Regions from separate parts of the Homo sapiens genome. Here all the other regions are linked to region 3. Evidence: promoter capture Hi-C in 16 types of primary human blood cells and fetal thymus (Javierre and others, 2016). All regions are on one chromosome and are shown on one strand. The core of a region is centred on a gene start or on the middle of the fragment in contact, and the rest is flanking DNA. Distances in the headings are between cores, read along the strand shown.

Evidence for each region. Contacts are between HindIII fragments. The CHiCAGO score rates a contact against its expected background, and 5 or more counts as called.
Region 1: a contact is called between the fragment with the promoter of MMACHC here and a fragment that was not itself captured in region 3, in 12 of 17 cell types (naive CD8 T cells, total CD4 T cells, naive CD4 T cells and 9 more). The highest score is 10.3, in naive CD8 T cells.
Region 2: the fragment with the promoter of PRDX1 here is called in contact with a fragment that was not itself captured in region 3 in 8 of 17 cell types (total CD4 T cells, naive B cells, fetal thymus and 5 more); the score reaches 8.0 in total CD4 T cells.

What each region holds. Positions count from the first base shown.
Region 1 is chr1:45,498,883-45,502,167 of GRCh38, forward strand. MMACHC (metabolism of cobalamin associated C) reads left to right here and starts at 1,418. Exons shown (of 4, transcript NM_015506.3): 1 at 1,418-1,531. The coding sequence starts at 1,451. It overlaps CCDC163 (CCDC163 homolog), which reads right to left and starts at 1,191. Exons shown (of 5, transcript NM_001102601.3): 1 at 650-1,191; 2 at 463-561. The coding sequence starts at 727. RefSeq lists enhancers at 1,131-1,663, 1,213-1,412. The HindIII fragment of the contact is 9,755 bases long and covers 1-2,668 here.
Region 2 is chr1:45,520,164-45,523,294 of GRCh38, forward strand. It overlaps PRDX1 (peroxiredoxin 1), which reads right to left and starts at 1,721. Exons shown (of 6, transcript NM_181697.3): 1 at 1,666-1,721. RefSeq lists a silencer at 915-1,077 and an enhancer at 2,120-2,199. The HindIII fragment of the contact is 8,348 bases long and covers 1,322-3,131 here.
Region 3 is chr1:45,016,354-45,019,523 of GRCh38, forward strand. ZSWIM5 (zinc finger SWIM-type containing 5) reads right to left here. Exons shown (of 14, transcript NM_020883.2): 14 at 46-2,963. The coding sequence ends at 2,101. Among named protein-coding and RNA genes, the nearest start is that of UROD, 5.7 kb to the left of the region's middle. The HindIII fragment of the contact is 1,175 bases long and covers 743-1,917 here.

The sequences.
Region 1 (3,285 bases), core at 168-2,667, 480 kb after region 3:
CCTCCCCAGGCAGAAAAAAGCACATGAACTACTGTATAACAGCTTTTCCCGACCCCTAGTATCCTCATCTTACACAAACATCACATATACACACCAAGGATTCCAAGCCTCACCTGAGCCTGACATTGAAATTAGGATCAGAGAATAGCAACCTCACCCCAGAGAGAGGATGGGCTCTAGGACTCAGGGCAGCTCAGCCTTTGTGGAACTATGGGAGTCTCTAAAGCCCAAGGCTGTTGAGCTTGGACTCCTGACTGCAGAGGCAAGTGATGAGAGGAAATCCAGGTCCCAGCCAGGTCCCCGGCTGAGGAAATAAGGAAGGGTTAAGTGCAGGGTCTGTGTGGGGAAACAGAGTTCAGGAAAGGACAGAGTTGGAATTTGGAAGGAATAATGGATGATACGGGCACTGGAGGAAGGCACAGAAAGAGAAAGGGCTTGGAAGTAGAAAGAGACATTACTTACCTGCGGTGGAGACCCCAAGAAGATACAGCCACTGCTACAGAAGAAACAGATGCACAGGCCAATGAGCTCTGTGGAGACCCCAAGAGGATACAGCCACTGCTACAAAAGAAACAGATGCACAGGCCAATGAACTCTGAGAGTCCCTTAGCCTCCCCACGCAAACTGGGGACCTCCACCAACCCCTCACCTTATTCCGGACCACATTTCCATCAGTAGCGTTGAGAAGCACATCCAGCTGCTCAAACCAGCTGAGGCTCGTATTCATATCCTGTGGCAGGGGAGCGGCAGGGGTCTGGCTCCCTGGTGTCTTGTGCTTGCTCTCCTAGCGGGGGATACCCAAGGTATCCCCAGGAAAGGCCACCACGTTAGATGGAAAGAGGGAAGTGGGGATGCAACACTGGGGTAGGTGGATGCACTATCAGACCAAAACTGCGATCCTGTGACTAGGGAAAGGAAGGACGCTCTTGGGGAACTGGGGGAAAAGCGGGATACCGTGATGATACGCAGATATCAGGTGGGGATTGAAGGTGCCAGAACCTGGTTGAGACCTCCCCAGAAGTAGTACACTGGCGCCACCACGCCAAACCTGTGCCAGTGACAACTGCCGCCGCCGGGTTCAAAACTTCGGGTTGGTTTTGAAAGTCCGACTTTGGACTGGCTGCCGCAGCGCCACCTGGGAAACTGAGGTCGCCTCTTGCGAACACAACCGGCGATGGAGGCGGTGGAACTACCTTTCTCTAGAAGAGACACGTACATGCACACCCCCACCGTGTAGCTTGCCGGGAAACTGAGTCTTCCTGATTTCGTGTGGCTGTCTCCAAGGAGGAAACGAACTACGCATCCCAAGATGCATCGCGCATAGGCAATATGGTCCCGCTACTGGACCCATTTCCTACCTGGGAAATGGAGTCGAAGCTGACTCAAAACGTAACGGCCCAATTGTCCTTGAGACTTCATTCCCCAGCAAGCTCAGCGTGTAACGTGCGCTATGGAGCCGAAAGTCGCAGAGCTGAAGCAGAAGATCGAGGACACGCTATGTCCTTTTGGCTTCGAGGTTTACCCCTTCCAGGTTAGTTTATCCCTCCTGCTGTTCTAGGGCGAAATATATGATTGGCTTCGTTGCAACTGGCGTGAGGCCTCGGGAGCCTCTGATCCTCCTGGGTTCCTGCAGCCCAGTGTCCATGTGACAACAGGGACAGAGTTTCAGTGGGGGCTTGGGTTAAAAAGGTAGTGGTCGAGGCCGGGCATGGTGGCTCACGCCTGTAATCCCAGCACTTTGGGAGGCCGAGGCGGGCGGATCACCTGAGGTGAGGAGTTCGAGACCAGCCTGGCCAACATGGTGAAACCCCATCTCTACTAAAAATATAAAATTAGCCGGGCGTGGTGGTGCATGCCTGTAATCCCAGCTACTCGGGAGGCTGAGGCAGGACAATTGCTTGAACCCATGAGACGGAGGTTGCAGTGAGCCGAGATTGCGCCATTGCAGTCCAGCCTGAGCAACAAAGAGCGAAACTCCGTGTCAAAAAAAAAAAAAAAAAAAAAAGTTGTCGCATGTTTAACCTTTTGCCACCATATAATGCCGGATTCGTTAACGGGAGACACCATATGACCTGTAGCGTGTGTGGCTCAGATTGTCACCTATATAATTTACAAGAAGAAAGGGACCTGTGAGGCAAAGTCACCTTGGAACTTCCTAAAGGATTTAGGAGAGGGCAAAGCCTAGAAGGTTTGCATAGCTATCATTTAGGTCAGCTGAGGAAGGAAGGGCATTCCTGGTGATGAACAGGCAAACAATTGGCTGGTTTGTTCCCTCTACCAACAGAAGGATAATTCATGATATTTCCAGTCATCAGTGCTGGGCTGGGTAATGAAACTTTGTACACTTGCCTGGCACAGCAGTCTCAGCACCGCACCCCGACCCCCATTTACACGGTTACATTTCCCCACATCAGTGCCCTGTGCACTGAGCAGTTAAGTTACAAAGCTAAATCAGCTCAGCTTGAGCCCTTTGCCTGATGCTTAAGAGACTACCCACTTCCCATTCCTTCTGCTGAGTGGCTCACAGCAGTCCTGGGAGAGGATATAGAGGGAGAAGTAGGTTGGGTCTAGCTTGAGACTGGTCTTGCCAGAAAAAATGGAATTGAGCTATATATGAAAAGATAGATTGGAAGGAAGGAGGGTTATGTACATCCCAAATATCAGAAAAAGCTTGAGTAAAGGTGTGGAGATAGTGGTGTGGTGTTACCAAGTAAAAGGGCTTGATGCCTGATGTGCTGGAAGCTAATATTATGACACTGGGTTTTTGAGAAAACAAAAGCTATTTGTTGCAGATCGACCTTTAACTCTTTGAGACACCGTTTCAGTGGATGGCAGGTGTGTGGGAGAGTGAGAATGCCTATCTGGCAAGTTGAGTAGACCTGGGTATTAGGAGCTTTTGTACTGAACAAAGCCAACTGCAGCCCTGCCAGTCACCCTAGGCTCCTACCTCTCACCTCCCTACCCCCACATCCAATCAGCCACCAAGACCTATAAGACTGTCTACTGAATCTCCCAAATCCATTCCCTTGTATTCCACCCATCTATGCTGTGGTCCAGGCCACCATTTCTCACTTGGATTACTGTAATAACCTCCTTGCTGTAATTTTACCTCCAGTCCCTCCTCCACACTGCAGCCAGTGTGATCTAAAAATGATCATGCTAGTTTACTCCTTAAATCTTCAGTGGCTCTTCACTGTCACCAAATTAAATCCATATTCCTTAAATTGGTATTCAAAGCCAATCAAAATCTCACTCCTATTGATCTCTCCAGCCTTCTCTCCCTCT
Region 2 (3,131 bases), core at 471-2,970, 500 kb after region 3:
CACTGCACTCCAGCCTGGGCAACAGAGTGAGACTCTGTCTCCAAAAAAAAAAAAAAAAAAAAGAGGCAAGACCAAGATATTGATTGGCATCTGCTTAATTTCAAATCTTTAGGTATTGTGTAAGCCCTAGAATTCCCTTCACCATTTGTGAAGGTGGGTTCCTGACTTTGGGGCTAATATCCCAGGGCGAAAACAAGTATAAGAATCAATTTACTGCTGAAAAGGAAGGTTGCACTGGATTCACCCAGATCAACACCAAGATTAGTATTGAGATCTTGGCCAAGCGCTGTGGCTCAAGCCTGTAATCCCAGCACTTTGGGAGGCCGAGGCAGGCAGATCACCTGAGGTCAGAAGTTCGAGACCAGCCTGGCCATCATAGTGAAACCCCGTCTCTAACAAAAATACAAAAAATTAGCCGGGGGTGGTGGCACGCGCCTGCAGTCCCAGCTACTCGGGAGGCTGAGGCAGGAGAATGGCGTGAACCCGGGAGGCGGAGGCTGCAGTGAGCCGAGATCCAGCCACTGCACTCCAGCCTGGGCGACAGAGCGAGACTCCGTCTCAAAAAAAAAAAAAAAAAAAAAATACAAAAATTAGCCGGGGCTTGGTGGCACAAGCCTGTAATCCCAGCTACTCCTAAGGCTGAGGCAGAAGAATTGCTTGAATTCGGGAGACAGGGGTTGCAGTAAGCCGAGACCGCGCCACTGCACTCCAGCCTGGCCGACAGAGCGAGACTCTAGCTCAAAAAACAGAGATTTAACCCACTAAGCCGCGGTCTGAAAGCTTTTCCAAGTCCCAAAGTTCTTAGTTCACAATACCACAAGCAAAAGAAATTTTGTAAGCATGGATCTTAGCAAACTTTTAACTGTTTTTTAAAAAGTCCTTAACACCTTTAACGACAAAAAACAAAAACCAAAAACTAAGGCATGCTGCAACTTGGTGCCCCCAAATGGCCTTCTCGTCCAATCCTTCTTTCCCAAGTGGCCCCCAAGTACAAAACCCAACCAATTCGGGGTAAAGGCTGCTGGGATTCAGGCCGCCACCGGGCCCCTTCAGGGGATCTGCCCAGCGTAGAGGGCCACATCCCTAAACCCCACTTCAGGTGCCCCCTGTCCCTCCCCAGCACTGGAGAAAGCACCAGCAGAGAGAGTGCTTCAGCGGGGACATTTGGGCTCATCGCTAACTCCATTCCACGTACAGGAAAATAAAGACGGGGAAAGGGTACCCGAAGCTCCGCAGCTAGTCAAGGCTCAGGACCCGGAACAGCCAAATACATAGAGGCTGTCTTCTACAGCCACGAGTCTGGATACAGGTCCATTCCAGAAGCTTCCCGAACCCACCCCGTCCGGCAGGAGGCTAGTCTCGGAGACCCCCACCACCAGCCCGCCCAGACGCCGCGCCACGTGCTCGAGTTGCCGGGGGAAGACTCGACTCGAGTCCACGCTTGCCTTGGGGTTCAACCAGGTTCCCGCACCTACGTGGGGGGCCCACGAGAGGGGTGTGCGCAGCGCTCAAGCAGTCTCGGACTCCGGGCCTCCCCCGGCTGCCTCACGCATCACAGCACCCCCACCCGAGCGCGGGCGGGCCCCGGACAGGAGGAGGAAGAGGCAACAGGCAAGAAGGGCGCGCCGCGCCTCACTCCGCAGGGGCCGCACTGCCCACACTCACCAGTCCCAACACAAGTCGCAGAAACTAACCACCGACACCAGGCAAGAACAAGACGCGCAAGAGCTCTCCGGGGCGCTGCCTTTATAGCCAGTAGGGATCTCGCGAGAGTCGGAACGGACGGGGGTGCCGGAGGAGGAGAGAGAGGAGGGGGATGTGGCCCGAGCCCCGCCCGGCGCGCCCCGCCGGAATGACTCGGCGCTTTCCCTCGTTGGGGCGGGTGCGGAAAAATACTAATACCCCACCCTGTTGCGGATGGCTGAGGTTGGAGTGAGGCGCCCTTGTGGCCGCTCCCGAACCCGAACGCTTAGGTTAATCCTAGATCTCTGCGGAAAACCAGGATTCTCTTTACTTCCAGGACCACTACGCACTGTGCCCTCAATGCCCAAACTGGAGTAAGCGTCTTAGCTGCTGCCCACGGAGGACCACGTCTAACCACACCAAGCCATGAGAACTGTCTATCCAAATATTTCTTAAGTTCGCAGCCTTAACCCCAGCGCAGATCCTCAGTAACCCTCATGGCTTAGATAGCTTCCTTCATTGTTCTCTTTAATTACAGGGTTGCTGCTTTCTGTTGTAAAGGAAAATAAAATATCAGGACTCCTAAACTTACGCCAGAGGGAAAGTTCATCTTGGGAGGCTGATTCAGTTACACGACCATCCTCTCCCCGGATGAATAATTTGACTTTACAATCTTGAGTCAAAACATTACACATTAGCCAGACCCACACGGTAAGGCAAAAGGCCTCAGACATTTCCTGATGACTACCCCCCACAAACACACATACACAAAATCATAATTAATTATTTGCTCCCCTGGAAACCTTTAAAGTATGTAGCCTCCCATAAAACAAGGACGTGTCAATTGCAACTAGATCTACAATATAAAGTCTAGTTCCTAAAACTAAAGTTTGTTCTATTCCACATTTTTTTGAGACGGAGTCTCACTCACCCTGTCGCCCAGGCTGTAGTGCAGTGGCACGGTGTTGGCTTACTGCAACCTCCACCTCCCGGGCTCAAGCGATTCTCCCGCCTCACCTCCGGAGTGTCTGGGACTACAAGCACGCACCACCACGCCCAGCTAATTTTTTGTATTTTTAGTAGAGACGAGGTTTCATCATGTTGGCTAGGCTGGTCTCCAACGCCTGACCTCAGGTGATCCGCCCGCCTTGGCCTCCCAAAGTGCTAGGAATGTAAGCGCGAGCCACCGCACCTGGCCTCTATTCCACAAATTCCATAAATGTTCACTACTAGATTACCTTTCTACTAGACTACTTTCTACCTTTCTAGTAGTACCTTACTACTAGATTACCCTGAGTCCACCACATAATTGTTTTCTTCCTCCATTCCCTTTTTCTTCAAACATTCACCTTATCTTATGTAAAAATGTAGATTTAGGCCACCTAGGAGGGCGGATCATAAGGTCAGGAGATCGAGACCATCCTGGCCAACATGGTGAAACCCTGTCT
Region 3 (3,170 bases), core at 80-2,579:
GCAGAAAGGAGAGATGGGTTTCATTTAGTGAGAGAACACAATTTCTGCTTTTAGAAAAATGATCTTTTATGTGATCCATGATTTATTCATAGAAAAGCACTGTGAATTCACACACTTGCTAAAAAAGGGCAACTGTGATACAGAAATGAGAGTGGCTTCTCTCTTTTTTTTAACCAACCCATTGGGCTGAGACGTAGGGGCCCTTGGCTGGACAGTAAGACTTGAGTAGCCACAAATGGCAAATACAACTTCTTGGTCAGTTTGGAGTAAAAAAGGTGACAGTTTGTCGAAGAAAGAAAAAGTAAAGCAGATGGAGAAGTTCTTAGTTCACATTCTAGCTATACCACCCCTTCCCTATCAAACCCCACCCCCAACTCAGGAACTAAGACATGAAACAGTAAACACCAAGACACTGGTTCCAACTGACTTTTCTGAGTGCCCTTGCTACCTCCTATAACAATTCCAGGCTGAGCACAGGGGTCAGGAAGGTAGCAGGAACATGATACACTATGGAGGTCAGCCAGGGCTAAGACAGGACTGCCCACTAGGGCTAGAAATTAGGAAGGGAGAGGCTAAGTGCAGACCAGCCCTAGCCTCCAAGTCAGCGAGCAATGAGACTGTGACAAAAGCCGGCGAGGAAGCTTGAGGTAGAAAGGCAGGGGAAGAAAGCAAGTATGAGGCGAGAAGAGAACTATGGAGCTAAAGCAGCCAATCTGATGGCAGAGGGAGATTGGTGCTTAGAAGCTTGTTTGGTGAGAGAATGAATAGAGGAGGCACAGAGATGGGGAACAAACGTTTAGCTGGCGAGAGAGATTTAAGAGGAATGGGAAAGAGAAATCTGGCAAAAAGGACACATTGATGCAGATCCTCAAACATGAATACACAGACATCCCTACATGTAGAAATACGCTCAGTTACACATATAAAGACACAGATGCATGGATAACAAGCATACACATGGATACAAACATGTTTATACACATGCACTCGTGTACGCAGATACACATACTAAACATGCACAAACATGAGTGCATTTGCACAAAGATGTGCATCCTCACATGTACACAAAATGTGTATATCCTCACGTAGAAACTCACAGTCCAGTGTGCACATATTCAAACAGGTACACAGCCATAGAACTGACACATACACATAAATATATATGTGCACAAACAGGCATGCACAGATGTATCTATGTACATACACACATGTACTTAGCCATAAAGATACACACACACAATTATAGATGAAACCACACACTTGCTAACACAAAGGTGACCACAGTAGATGAATATTATGAACTCAGCGGCTTCCCAGACCTTCATCTTCTCCCTGCACTTGTTTCTCAGGTGTTCAGCAGGCTCCTGAAGAGGCTGTGTGAGGCAGGAGCTTCAATGTCCTCACAGTTTTGTGAGGCAAAAGTCTAAGTCCAGTCCTGGCCTCTGTCCCTCACTCACCACTGGACTATAAATGCCCTGTCTGTAGGTGGGGGATTCTGCATAGACTAGACTTGGGTTGATCCTAACTGGCCATTTTTCTCCTTGGCACCCCCACTCTTCCACTGCTACCAGCAAACACTCTGCAAGGGAAACCTGAGAAATGGTTGTGAGTCTCCTCAGAAAATAAGCATATCCTCCTACCCACAGCTACTTCAAGTGCCCATCAAATCAGAAGCAGAATTATAAATAGTTACAAGTTTACAATAATTAGCAACACATATAGTATTTACAGTCCCACAAATGTGTCTGTTTCTCTGGTTAAGCAATCCCTGAGATGGAACAGTGTTCTGTGTTTGCCAAGGGAGACAGGGCCAATGCTCAGGACACGCAGGATATAGGGGCATGAGGTGGCATGTTGTGGGGTTTCTGGTCGATCTGCAGGGCCCAGCTCCTCCATGAACAGTAGGCTGTAGTCAGAAGCTTGCCAAGGTAGGCATTATCGACTAGAGCTGGACTTTCCCCATCCTTAGCCCTGTGGTCCTTTGGCCTCATCCACAGGTGCTCAGAGTTCTCTCAGGGTGGACAAATGTTTCAGTGCCCTTGGCCTGACCTGATACTACCTGGGAACCCAGGCTGCTCTGGCAGTGAGCTATCTGCTCTCTCAGCCAAAGCGCTCTCGCACCAGCAGCATCAACTTTTTCTTGCCTTTGTAGATCTGTTTGAGGTTGTCGATGAACTGGGCAAACTGCAGGTGGCCATCCTGGGGCAGCAGGAAGGTCTCCCGAGCCTTGCTTAGAAACTCAATGAACTCTCCATAGTGGCGAGGGCTGATGTGTGTTAGGCGTGAGTGTGTAGTGTTGATATAGGCATTGATGGTGGCATCCAGCAACTGGCGCAATGGAGCTTTGTCAGTGGACATGAGCTTTCCAGAGCTTCGGCGGCCTGGGATGCCGGCCAGGCCAGGTGCAGTCACTGTGCAGCGTCGTAAGATGTCTGAAAGCACTGTGGCACAGTGCACACTCTTCACCACCAGGGGGATGAGAGCTGCCAGCTCATTCTTGCCCAGAGAGTGGCTGAGAGCACAAGCCCAGAGCACATCATTGATGGCTGGGTGAGTATCCTGGTTGTAGGCCAGGTTAAGATGGCTCATGGCCAATGAGGCCAGCTTGAAGGCACGTAGCGGGTAGCCACGGAGCTCCATGTAGCGGGCGATGGTGAACAGCTGTGAATGGGTCATACCACCAGCAGCAGCATCAATGGCAATCTGGTAGGCTGCCTCAAAGGCAATGTGGTCTTTCTCACAGAGTGTAAGGGCTGACAGGGCACAGCTCTGTGGATCCTTCATAGCACACTGTAGAGCCAGTGTGCGAGCACAGCTAGCCAGTTCCTCCCGCTGTGGATAGTCAAGACTGAGGCGCAGGATAGTGGTGTGGGATACGGCTGTGGCAGCTACAATACTAGTAGCCTCAGTAGGGGTGAAGAGTGTGTACCAGCTCTGCAAGATGCTCACCAGGGCCCGCACACCTGTCAGGGGGAGCCTGAGCTCAGCCGTGGCCATCTGGGTCCTGATTCAGGTCTACCCAGATTACCATTTGGGGTTTGAACTTGGCCTGCAGAGATGAATTCTTCCTCCTCAGCAACCTTGAGATGATATGAGGCAAACCAGGGCAAGGGGAGCATCCCAGATGGCCAGACCCTGTTTGGGGTCTCTTCCTATCCCTTCTTTCCCCA